Linked DNA regions of Homo sapiens: region 2 is linked to region 1. The links are contacts of gene promoters, found by promoter capture Hi-C in human tissues and cell types (Jung and others, 2019). All regions are on one chromosome and are shown on one strand. Each heading gives the region's core, a stretch centred on a gene start or on the middle of the fragment in contact. The rest is flanking DNA. Distances are from core to core; before and after follow the strand shown. Region 1 holds the start of SLCO1B3 (solute carrier organic anion transporter family member 1B3). Region 2 overlaps SLCO1B3-SLCO1B7 (SLCO1B3-SLCO1B7 readthrough).

Region 1 (5,959 bases), core at 2,032-4,531:
AATGTTATCTATATAAGCATCCGATTTGTAATAGGATACTGATTATATAATATGTATGATATAGGTTATATGTACAATTGATTCTCACGTTTTGCAATAATTATGTTCCATAAAGTTGCTGGGAACACTGAATTTGCAAATATTAATCCATCATTCCTAGAAGAGATACAGTGTTAGGTGACTGTGTGGCTTTGGTCACAATATTTTAATCAACGGATCAATACATAACTTAATACATAATGTTTTATGTATGTTTTTGTTTAAAGACACCTTAGTATATACTGTTGATTCATTAACATTGAATTAGTGGCCAATAGCACTGTAGTTCATGCCTGAGGGAAACTTACATAGCATATGTACCTCTTCTGTCAGGCCCTCTAGGAGGTGGGAACAACGGGACAACACTTCAGGGCTATGCTTGAAGTCCATTTAAAACAGTAAACTCAGCATCGCAAAGCACAACTATGGAAACAATGTGGCGATAAATGCACTGTGAAGTTTATAGTATGGGAGCTGAGAGAGGAAGGCAGAGCTTCACTTTGTTCCACTTCAACTGGAAACAGAGCAACTCAAATTTTTCACCACTCTGCTCATGCATGCCAATGATCACAAAAGCCCAGCAGTATTAATTTTGGTGTCACAAACAAATTTTAGTGTTTAGACAAATTTTCTAATATAGAATCTGTGAATAATGAAGATCTACTGCATATTTTATGCATTAATTTACTCAACAAGGATTTATTGATTCTCTATATTATAAATGCATAAAAACCATAAATATATATCATGCATATTTAGTGGATAATGCATGAATATGGAAAAATCAATATCTGAAGATATTATCACTTATGTATATGCGAGTGTATATAAATACACTCATGAATGGAGAAACCCATACCTATGTATCTCTAAGAGAAGTTCAATTATTCCACTTTTTGTATGTGTTTTGTAGGTAAAGTGAGGAAAAAAATCAATAATTTGGTGGTCTCAAGGTAATAAGCAGCCCCTTAATAAATTTACACCACTTTTTCCACGAATATCTCTGTTTCTTCATAATTTAAAAGTTGGAAAATATTTATTTTTTACCAATTAATTCTATAATTGCAAATCTTTTTGAACGACTTGCAAGGCAGATAGTCTTCCTTCAGCTTTAGAGTTTTCTTTTTCTTTATACTAAACAAATATTCTTGAAGGCTTGAAGACTATTATCTCACCACTCAAGCCTTGTTTCTTTCAATTGATTAATTTCTACTTGTCCTGTCTTCCAGCTTGCTTTCTTTCCTATGCATATCATGTCCATTCTTGGAATCATTCAAAGATCCCTCTTACAACAAAAATAAAACTTACACTTCCTATTTGAGGGTCTTCACAGCCTAAATGAATCCAAGTTTTTAGTCCCATTTCCCAATACAACCATAAGCACTTGCAGATGTATGGAACCACTGTCCCAACAGAAAAGCTCTCTACCTTCATGTATATGTCTTCCATTCCTGGAATGTCCTTCCCTATCTCTTGGCTGTAATGCGGCTCCAAATCACACCACTTTAATGTTTCCCTATTTACCTCTAGTTGAAATAAACTCTCTCATCCTCTCATCCTTCTGTACCACTGGAGAACATACCCGAATAATCATTACTTTTTTCTGTTATTTCCCGTACTTTCCAAGACAACTATTCCACACCTCTCTCTTTTATGTTCAGATAAAATACCCATCCAGAAAAATAAGAAATGTGGGCACTTGGTTTCTCATCTCTCAGAAAGGTTAAATTGTATCAAGTAGGCCGGGAGCAGTGACTCATGCCTGTAATCCCAGCACTTTGGGAGGCCGAGGCGGGCAGATCACCTGAGGTTGGGAGTTCGAGACCAGCCTGACCAACACAGAGAAACCCCATTTCTGCCAAAAATACAAAATTAGCTGGGTGTGGTGGTACATGCCTGTAATCTCAGCTACTCTGGAAGCTCAGGCAGGAGAATCACTTGAACCCAGGAGGCTGAGGTTGTGGTGAGCTGAAATCACGCCATTGCACTCCAGCCTGGGCAACAAGAGCGAAACTCCTTCTCAAAAAAAAAAAAAAAAAAATGTATCAAGTAAGTACAAAGTACCTACAAAACTTGAATATCAATTTAGCCTTGAATAAATACCACACTTTTTACTTCATTGTGGCATTTTAAGCCTTATTTAGAAGCGTTTAATATATTTTGCTCTGAACATATTATTTCTGAGTTCCAAATTATTGACATAAATAAATGTTGAGGACACAATATGTTTATAGACAGAGCCACAGGCATTTGTATGCAGCATTGCAACTCTTCCCTGAACAGAACAGGTCAGTTCTTCACAGTTTGATTGGGCTGAAGTAGAGGGCAGAATCTTACCAGCCTCTGCTTATTTCTGTTTAGCTTTTCATATTTAAGGGGTTATAGAAAACCAGTGCAGGCCAAGTGACCCAGTTTCTAGCATGTACCTATGGAACTGAGGAGGATAAAAGGGAAAACAGCATTTCCTAACTTCTTAGATTGTTCAGAGGAGAGAATTTCTGCATCCCCACCTTACTTTCACAATAAAAATAACTGTCTTATCAGGGAAGCCACCTTCCTGAATGGGTGAAGGGGACCATTATTTATTGAGCTGTTAATTCTTTCCAAGAGCTGTGCCCAGAAGATTTTTTTCTCTTATTTGAACAGAGATAAAAAAGTTATCTAGAAAATCTCTTTCCCCTCACCCTAAATCAAACGAGTTGAATGGAGGAAAGTGAGGTGATTAAGTGACTTTGAAACATATTTTCCACCCCTCCACCCGCCCACTCCTACTTATCCAGTTAAAGTGAAATCAAAGAAATAGGGAGCCTGGTATAGTAATTCAATACAGTTTATACAAATAATTATCTTATAGTATATTTTAAGAGAGTAACTAGAAGTCCATCCTTTCAGACTTCATGTTTCATTTGTTTAGAAAGCAATAGAAATAGGACTCCAAACTTTATTTTTCACTTTATAAAGGTATGATTTACTCTTATTTTTGAGTATATAAATCTGAGGCTCTTCTATTTCTAGAAGGGATATTTACAAGGCTTTAAGGGCTCAGAACAAAAGTGTGGAGAAGACACAGAGCATAAAATCTGTAATATTTATCATAACTACCAAAAACATTTTCACTGAAATTTGTTAAAATTTCTTACATAAAAGAAATGTTTTAATTAGACAACCTCGACGGTTCTTACCTTGACTTTGAATGCTACAGCAACTGCAACAAGTCCATCCTTTTTCTGATGTTAAAGTCTCACTTTAAATGGTTAGTTGGCTTTTTATTTGTTTGTTTTTATGAGTCCAATGATGATTAACCATCTTATTAGGTCATTGTCCTAGGCAAACAGAAAAAACATACCTAGCTAATTCTAGGAGTTCACCCCAGAAGCCTATCTTTTAAACATTTTATTAATAATTTCTCAGAATGTACACATTATGTTAACATTAGAAAATAAATTATTTCTGGGAATGATTTATTTCTTATTCAATTAAGTTGGTTGCATAAGATTTTCTTCTTTAGAAATACAAATACAACACATTATCCAAAGTATTTAAAACTATTCCAAATAGAAAATATGTCAAGGCGATTTTTTAAAATGTCCCTACATGTTACATTAGCATTCAAAAAATAAAACATACCCTCTTTGCTTGTTACATGTGTATGGATCTAATATGACGTACATGGACACTGGATATCTCACATGGAATACTAAATTGCCAATTAATTACAAGACTAGTCTTCTAAATGACAAAAATCAAGACTAGTTTGTATGATATATTCCTTACATCAATGTGTAAAGGAAGAATGATCTCCTTCTATTGACTTGCTCTTTAGAGAATGGAAGACCTTCACTCAGTTGAAACTTTTCTTGAGTAAGGATGAAGTCAAATTAATTAATTCAGTAACTCAAACATATTTGACTCCCTACTATATCTCAGGCACATGGCTGTGTTTTAGAAGTGTACTATAAAAATATAAATAATAAACGGAGTCTTCTCTCACATGTATATATACACACACATGCATGAGTGTATGTATATATGTATTTATGTGTATGTGTGTATGTATATAGCAAAGAGAGAATGCATGTATGAAAACATTGTTACCCCTTATCACTGACAGGACAGTTGTTGATACAGTTGCAGCAATATGTATTTAATTTCTATATCACAGTTATTTGATAAACTAGTTTTTTTTTTTTTTTTTGAGACGGAGTCTTGCTCTGTCACCCAGGCTGGAGTGCAGCGGCACGATCTCGGCTCACTGCAAGCTCCGCCTCCCGGGTTCACGCCATTCTCCTGCCTCAGTCTCCCGAGTAGCTGGCACTACAAGCGCCCGCCACCACGCCCGGCTAATTTTTTCGTATTTTTAGTAGAGACGGGGTTTCACCATGTTAGCCAGGATGGTCTCGATCTCCTGACCTCGTGATCTGCCCACCTCGGCCTCCCAAAGTGCTAGGATTACAGGCGTGAGCCACTGCGCCCAGCCTAGATTAGTTCTATACCTGGTTAATTCATGGAAGTATTAGAATAATGAAAGGAACCGGAGTGTGGAGGGAGAGAAGGATTAGAAAATGTGGGGAACACTGAAGTGTAGACCTGGGGCAGGGAAAATTAGATATAGGCTCCCAAACACCCCTCTGTTGAGTCAAAATCTACTGGGGAGCCTTTGTCAAAAGTGCGATCCAGCCCCACACCCAAGAGATTCTGATTCACGAGTTCGGAGATTATGCTTTTTAAATAAGCACTTAGAATAATTTTTACATACTGTCAGCTTTTGAGAACCATCATAGCAGAGATACTAAACATTAATTATCAGTTTTATGGCTTTTCTTTTATTCAGAATGGGAAGACAGTTTGGATATTCTCATGCTAATGGTTTTCTCCTCACACATCCATTTCATTCAAGACACATCAATTTCATTTGGGACAAATACATGCATAGAATGAAGATAAAATAGTACAAATGCACTGAGAAACTTTCTAATCCCTAAACTAACGCTATCAGTGGTAAAATTCTGGAATGTTTTCAGAAGTCAAAGAGCATTCTCTGTGCCCTTTTTTCTTCCTATGTAAGTAATTAGACTTCCCTTTTTGTGGGACTTGTGGAAAAAATAAGAGTGGTCAGAGGAAACACATTGCAACACTTTTTTTCAAGATAAATATTATGCTAACAGCTGTGGATCAATACAACTCCAAATTTGCTTAAAACAATCTGCTGTTTGTTGCCGCAATAATCATCACAGTTCTGATGAAATATTATGGGCTTTGAAGTTTGATAAACTTTGATACCAATGTCTCTGCTACTTGACAGCAGTATAAATTTCCTAAGTTGTTTCACCATTCTAAGTATCTATGCTTTCATCCATTAAGTGGGAAGGCTATAGTTGTAATAAAGATTTGCTCTGTGTAAACTGCCTCACCCAGTACCTGGCACATTATAGATTCCATACCTAAATAGAGTCATTGTATGGCATTTGCATATTGTCCATTTTTAAAGCAGTTAATTCATATTACAAGAGTAAAAGTCAAGTCTCTGAAACACGTCCCCAGCAATTTTTCCTAATAGTTTTTAGTCTGAGTTCTCAGATGGGTACTGGGTGCGTATTCCCAGAAGGAAACTTCAGGCTCAAAGCAGACCTGCCATTGCCTACCCACCCCACCTTCCTTAGCTGGTCAAGACGTAATTACAGAAAGCTGCACTCCCTGGAAAGAACCCCCATGTCTCCATACCCACTAAGGGTCAAAGCTCTGGTATCATTATGACTAATCTTATGGCAATTCTCTCTCTTAATGTCAGTCACCACCATAAGAAGGTAGGGGCAAGGCGCGGTGGCTCATACCTGTAATTCCAGCACTTTGGGAGGCCGAGGCAGGCGGATCACGAGGTCAGGAGATGGAGACCATCCTGGCTAACACGGTAAAACTCCCT
Region 2 (5,982 bases), core at 422-2,921, 270 kb before region 1:
ATGTCCACTTTAACCAATCCAGCAGTGAACACAGGTGACTAAAATAAAAGTAGTAAGGGCCATGTGTCAGCTACAATATGCCAGGAGAGTTGTAAAGAGGGATGGTTATTTCTAGCTGGCTGAAGTGGTGCAAACTTTTGAAGAAAGGGTGTATGAGATAAGCTTGAAGCATGCACTGGATGTCAGAAGCCTAACACTTGCCTTAATTGGCTAAAATCAAGGTATTGATAGAGCTGCATCTTTTTATTTTATTTTATTATTTATTTATTTTTGAGATGGAGTCTCACTCTGTTGCCCATGCTAGACTACAGTGGCAAGATCTTGGCTCACTGCTACGTCCACCTCCCAGGTTCCCGTGATTCTCCTACCTCAGCATCCTGAGTAGTTGGGATTACAGGCACCTGCCACCATGCCAGGCTAATTTTTGTATTTTTTAGTAGAGACGGGGTCTCACCATGTTGGCCAAGCTGGTCTCTAACTCCTGACCTCAAGTGATCCACCTTCCTTGGCCTCCCAAAGTGCTGAGATTACAGGTATAAGCCACCGCGCCTAGCCCTGCATTTTTTTTCTGTAAGCTCTACAACCTGTTTCCTTGTCTTTTCCCACTTCTAGAGGCGACCTACATTCCTTGGCTTCTGGGCCGTTTCCTTCAACTTCAAAACCGGCAACAATATGCATAGTCGTTCTCACATCACATCCCTCTGACCTCTTCTGTTGCTTCCCACTTACATACACACATACATATATATGTGTGGGTGTACACAACACACACACACACACACACACACACACACACATTTCCTTTTAGTTCTACCAAAACCTTCACTAAAGGAAAAGAAACTAATATGGGTTTTTTAAAAAATTGTTTTAGAAGTCTTTTCATACTGAAACTAAAGTAACTAAAGTAATGCTATCCTAAAATGTGATGTTAATGCTTGGACTTGGTGATCATTGCTTTGGGGAGATTCTGAGGAGCATCTTGACAGTTGTCCTAAAATGAGTTATAATTCCAAATAAAAATAAACACTTTCGGCCGGGCACAGTGGCTCACACCTGTAATCCCAGCACTCTGGGAGGCCTAGGCGGGTGTATCATGAGGTCAGGAGATTGAGACCATCCTGGCTAACACGGTGAAACCCCGTCTCTACTAAAAATACAAAATATTAGCCGGGCCTGGTGGCAGGCGCCTGTAGTCCCAGCTACTTGGGAGGCTGAGGCAGGAGAATGGTGTGAATCCTGGAGGCAGAGCTTGCAGTGAGCCGAGATTGCGCCACTGCACTCCAGCCTGGCCAACAGAGCGAGACTCAGTCTCAAAAAGCAAACAAACAGACAGAAATAAACACTTTCTTAACATAATGTCATTAAAGTAAATTTAGTAAGTGTTGCTTTTTTATTTCTTTCCATACTTTTATTCGTGGAAATAAAATCTACCATTTAGGAAGACATTTTATATAATAAGACTTAAAGTTAGGAGAATGTGGGGTAGTGAATGCTGCTTTACTACAATTCCAGGAAAAGCTGGATCATTACTTGTTGGGAATGTTTGATAGTGAATTTACATATTAAGTAAGAGAAGGTTCTAGTAAATTTGACCCAGGGAGTTTTCTCCAGGGATTTCACCTGAACTAAGAAACATTCCCCACTTTACATAAACAATAGCATGCTCCACGTATTCTTCCTGCTTTGTCCTTTTTTTTAATGTAACAATATATTGTGAATAGGGTCCATATTAGAAAATACATATCTCGTTTCTTCTTTTTTTAAGAACTCAGAATATTCATTTGCCTGCATGTGTCACTATTTGATAACTTATTGATTGATATTTACATTGTTTTCAGTATTTTGGGAATATAGCTTGCTAGAGGATAAATTCCTAGAAGTACTCCCACTGGCTCAAAGTCATTTACTTTGCAAACACAATCTCCAATCAACACCTTTGTTGACAATCTGGGTGACTTTTAATTGCAATTCTCTTATTGTCAATGAATAAAAAAATGATGTTCATATTTTCATGTTTCATAACCTCTAGTGACTTTTTTGGAAAATGTTTGATGATTTTTTTTCTTTACTAGTTCCTATATCTTATAGCAATTTTAGTTTTACAGAAAACTGTACAGAAAGTATGGAGGGCTCCCTGCCCAACATACGCACAGTTTCTCCTATCATTAACCCCTTGTATTAGTACAGCACATTTGTTCCAAATGATGAAAGAATACCGATACATTATTAAGTCCATATTTTACATTAGAGTTCACTTTCTATGTTGTAAATTTCCAAAGGTTTGGCAAATGCATATTATGATGCAACATTATAATATCATATAGAATAGTTTCACTAGCCCAAAAAATGTCTTGTGTCAGACCTATTCAGACCTATTCATCCATTCCTTTTCCCCACTGAGCCCCAAGAAACAACTGATCTTTTCATTGCCCATTGTTTTGCCTTTTCTACAAAGTTATACAGTTAAAATTATACAATCTGAAGCTTTGTAGGCTGCCTTCTTTTATTTACACATTTAATTTTCCTTTCTTTCTTTTTGTAGATTGATAGCTCATTTTTTTTTAATTGATTGATGTGATTTGGATTTGTGTCTCTGCCCAAATATCATGCCAAATTGGAGGAGGGGCCTGGTGGGAGATGACTGGATTATGGGGGGTGGATTTCCCCCTTTCTGGTCTCAAGATAGTGAGTGAGTTATGAGATCTGATGGTTTAGAAGTGTGTGGTACTTCCACTTTTGCGCTCTCTCTCTCTCTCTCCTGTTGCCATGAGAAGATATGCTTTGTTTCCCCTTCGCCTTGTGCCATGACTGTAAGTTTCCTGAGGCCTCCCAGTCATGCTACCTGTAAAGCCTGTTGAACTGTGAATGAATTAATCCTGTTTTCTTCATAAATTACCCAGTCTCAGGTAGTTCTTTATAGCATCCTGAGAATGGACTAATACATTGATGACTAATATTCCATTGTATGAATGTACCACAGTTCAATTATTTGTTTACCTATTAAAGGACATCTTAAATGCTTCCACTTTTTAACATTCAAATGCAGGGTTTTTTTTTGTGGACATGTTTCCAATTAATTTAGGTAAATATCTGGGAGCATGATTGCTTAATCATACAGTAAATCTATCTTTTGCTTTTAAAAAACTTTGACTCTGTCTTCCAACATGGCTGTACCATTTTATATTACCTCCAGCAATGAAAGAAAATTCCTGTTATCTCATTCTTGCCAGCATTTGGTGGTGTTTTTGTTAATTTTTAAGAGCTTTTTATATACATAGGACATTTGCCTATGTCTGTGTCTGACTTAGAAATTCTTCTAATTTATCTTTTGCTGTTGAATTTCACTTAAAATAAGTTCTGGTGATGCAGTTTTTAAAATATTTTATTATTTGTTCCTTTTCTTTATCTTCTTTGTTTTAACATTTATTTTAGGTTCACGGGTACATGTGCAGGTTTGTTATGTAGGTAAATTGTATGCTATGCAGGTTTGGTGTACAGACTTATTGTCACCCAGGTAATAATCATAGTCACTTATAGGTAGCTTTGTATCTTCACCCTCCTCTCACCCTCCACCCACAAGCAGACCCCAGTGTCTCTTGTTCCCTTATTTGTGTCCATATGTACTCAATGTTTAGCTCCCACTTAAAAGAGAGAACATGTGGTATTTGATTTTCTGTTCCATAGGCTCACTTATGATTCAACATCACTAATTATTAGAGAAATACAAATCAAAACTACAATGAGATACCATCTCACACCAGTTAGAATGGCTATTGTTAACAAGTAAAAAAATAACAGATACTGACAAGGTGGTGAAAAAAAGGGAACACTCATACATTACTGGTGGGATTGTAAATTAGTTCTGCCATTGTAGAAAGCAGTCTGGTGGTTTATCAGAGAATGTAAAACAAAATTACCATTCAGCCCATTAATTGTATTACTGGGTATAAACCCAAAGCAATAAAAATCCTTCCACCATTTTTTTTTTTTAATTATCATTTGGGGCATTTGGGTCATACTTGGTGTTATGGGTTGGTTGTGTCCCCACCCAAATCTCATCTTAAACTATAGTTCCCATCATCCCCAAATGTCGTGGAAGGGACCCAGTGAGAGGTAACTGAATTATGGGGATGGTTATCTCCACACTGTTCTCGTAGTGAGTGAGTTCTCATGAGACCTGATGGTTTTATAAGGTGCTTTTCTCCCTCTTTGCTTGGCACTTCTTCTTGCTGCTGCCATGTGCAGAAGGATGTGTTTGCTTTCCCTTCTGCTGTGATTTTAAGTTTACCCAGGCCTCCCCAGCCCTCCAGAACTGCAAGTCAATTAAACCTCTTTCCTTTATAAATTACCAGTCTTGAGTATGTCTTTATTAGCAGTGTGAGACTGGACTACTACAGTAAATAGGTACCAGGTAAGGGGGCACTGCTGTAAAGATATCCCAAAATGGGGAAGCAACCTTGGAATTTGGTAACAGGCAGAGGTTGGAATTGTTTGGATGGCTCAGAAGAAGACAGAAAAATGTGGGAAACTTTGGAACTTCCTAGAGACTTGGAGGGCTCAGAAAATAGGAAGATGTGGGAAAGTTTGAAACTTTCAAGAGTCTTGTTGAATAGCTTTGAACAAAATGCTGATAGTGATATGGATGATAAAGTCCAGGCTGACGTGGTCTCAGATGGAGATGAGGAACTTGTTGGGAGCTGGAGTAAAGGTCACTGTTGCTATACAAAGAGTTGGGTGACATTTTGCCCCTACCCTGGAGATCTGTGGAACTTTGAACTTGAGAAAGATAATTTAGGGTATCTGGTGGAAGAAATTTCTAAGTGGCAAAGTGTTCAAGAAGAAGTGGTGCATAAAAGTTTGAAAAATTTGCAGCCTGATGATACAGTAGAAAAGAAACCCATATTCTGCGGAGAAATTCAAGCCAGCTGCAGAAATTTACATAAGTAATGAGAAGACAAATGTTAATTGCCAAGATAATGGAGAGAATGTCTCCAGGGAATGTCAGAGACCTTTGTGGCAGCCCCTCCCATCACAAAACAAGAGGCCTAAGAGAAGTACTGGTTTTGTGGGCTGGGCCCAGGGACCCCTGCTGTGTGTAGCCCAGAAACTTGGTGCTACAAGTCCCAGACACTCCAGCCATTTTTAAAAGACGCCATGGTACAGCTTGCCCCATGGCTTTAGAGGTTGCAAGCCGCGAGCCTTGGCAGCTTCCATGTGGTGTTGAACCTGTAGATGCACAGAAGTAAAGAATTGAGGTTTGGGAACCTCCGCTAAGATTTCAGAACATGTATGGAACTTTCTAGGCAGAAGCTTGCTGCAGGGATGGGGCCCTTATGCAGAATCTCTGCTGGGACAGTGTGGAAGGGAAATGTAGGGTTGGAACCCCCACACAGAGTCCCCACTGGGGCACTCCCTAGTGTGGCTGTTAGAAGATGCCCACCATCCTCTATACCCCAGAATGGTAGACCTACCAACACCTTGCTTTGTGTGCCTGAAAAAGCTGCAGACACAATGCCAGCCCTTAAAAGCAGCCTGAAGGGAAGCTGTATCCTGCAAAGCCACAGTGGTAGAGCTGCCCAAGACCATGGGAGCCCACCTCTTGCATCTGTGTAAACTGGACGTGAGACATGGAGCCAAAGGAGGTCATTTTGGAACAATAAGGTTTAAAGACTGCCCTATTAGATTTTCGGCTTGCATGGGGCCTGTAGCCCCTTTGTTTTGGCCAATTTCTCCCATTTGGAATGGGTGTATTAACCCAATGCCTGTACTCCCCATTGTACCTAGGAAGCAACTTATCTGCTTTGATTTTACCAGCTCATAGGCAGAAGGTACTTGCTTTGTCTCAAATGAGACTTTGGACTTGGACTTTTGAGTTAATGCTGAAATGAGTTAAGACTTTAGGGGCCTGGTGGGAAGGCATAATTGTGTTTTGAAATGTGAGGACATGAGATTTGAGAGGGGCCAGGGACAGAATGATATTGT

The links. The method cuts DNA at HindIII sites, captures the fragments that hold promoters and counts their contacts. A contact is called where the count stands out against the background at its distance.
Region 2: a fragment that was not itself captured here is called in contact with the fragment with the promoter of SLCO1B3 in region 1 in 2 of the 25 tissues and cell types used here (dorsolateral prefrontal cortex and hippocampus).

The regions. Positions count from the first base shown.
Region 1 is chr12:20,808,027-20,813,985 of GRCh38, reverse strand. SLCO1B3 (solute carrier organic anion transporter family member 1B3) reads right to left here and starts at 3,281. Exons shown (of 16, transcript NM_019844.4): 1 at 3,222-3,281; 2 at 348-462. The HindIII fragment of the contact is 19,974 bases long and covers 1-5,959 here.
Region 2 is chr12:21,077,572-21,083,553 of GRCh38, reverse strand. All of the region lies in intron 15 of SLCO1B3-SLCO1B7 (SLCO1B3-SLCO1B7 readthrough), which reads right to left. Among named protein-coding and RNA genes, the nearest start is that of SLCO1B1, 51 kb to the left of the region's middle. The HindIII fragment of the contact is 4,453 bases long and covers 1-3,897 here.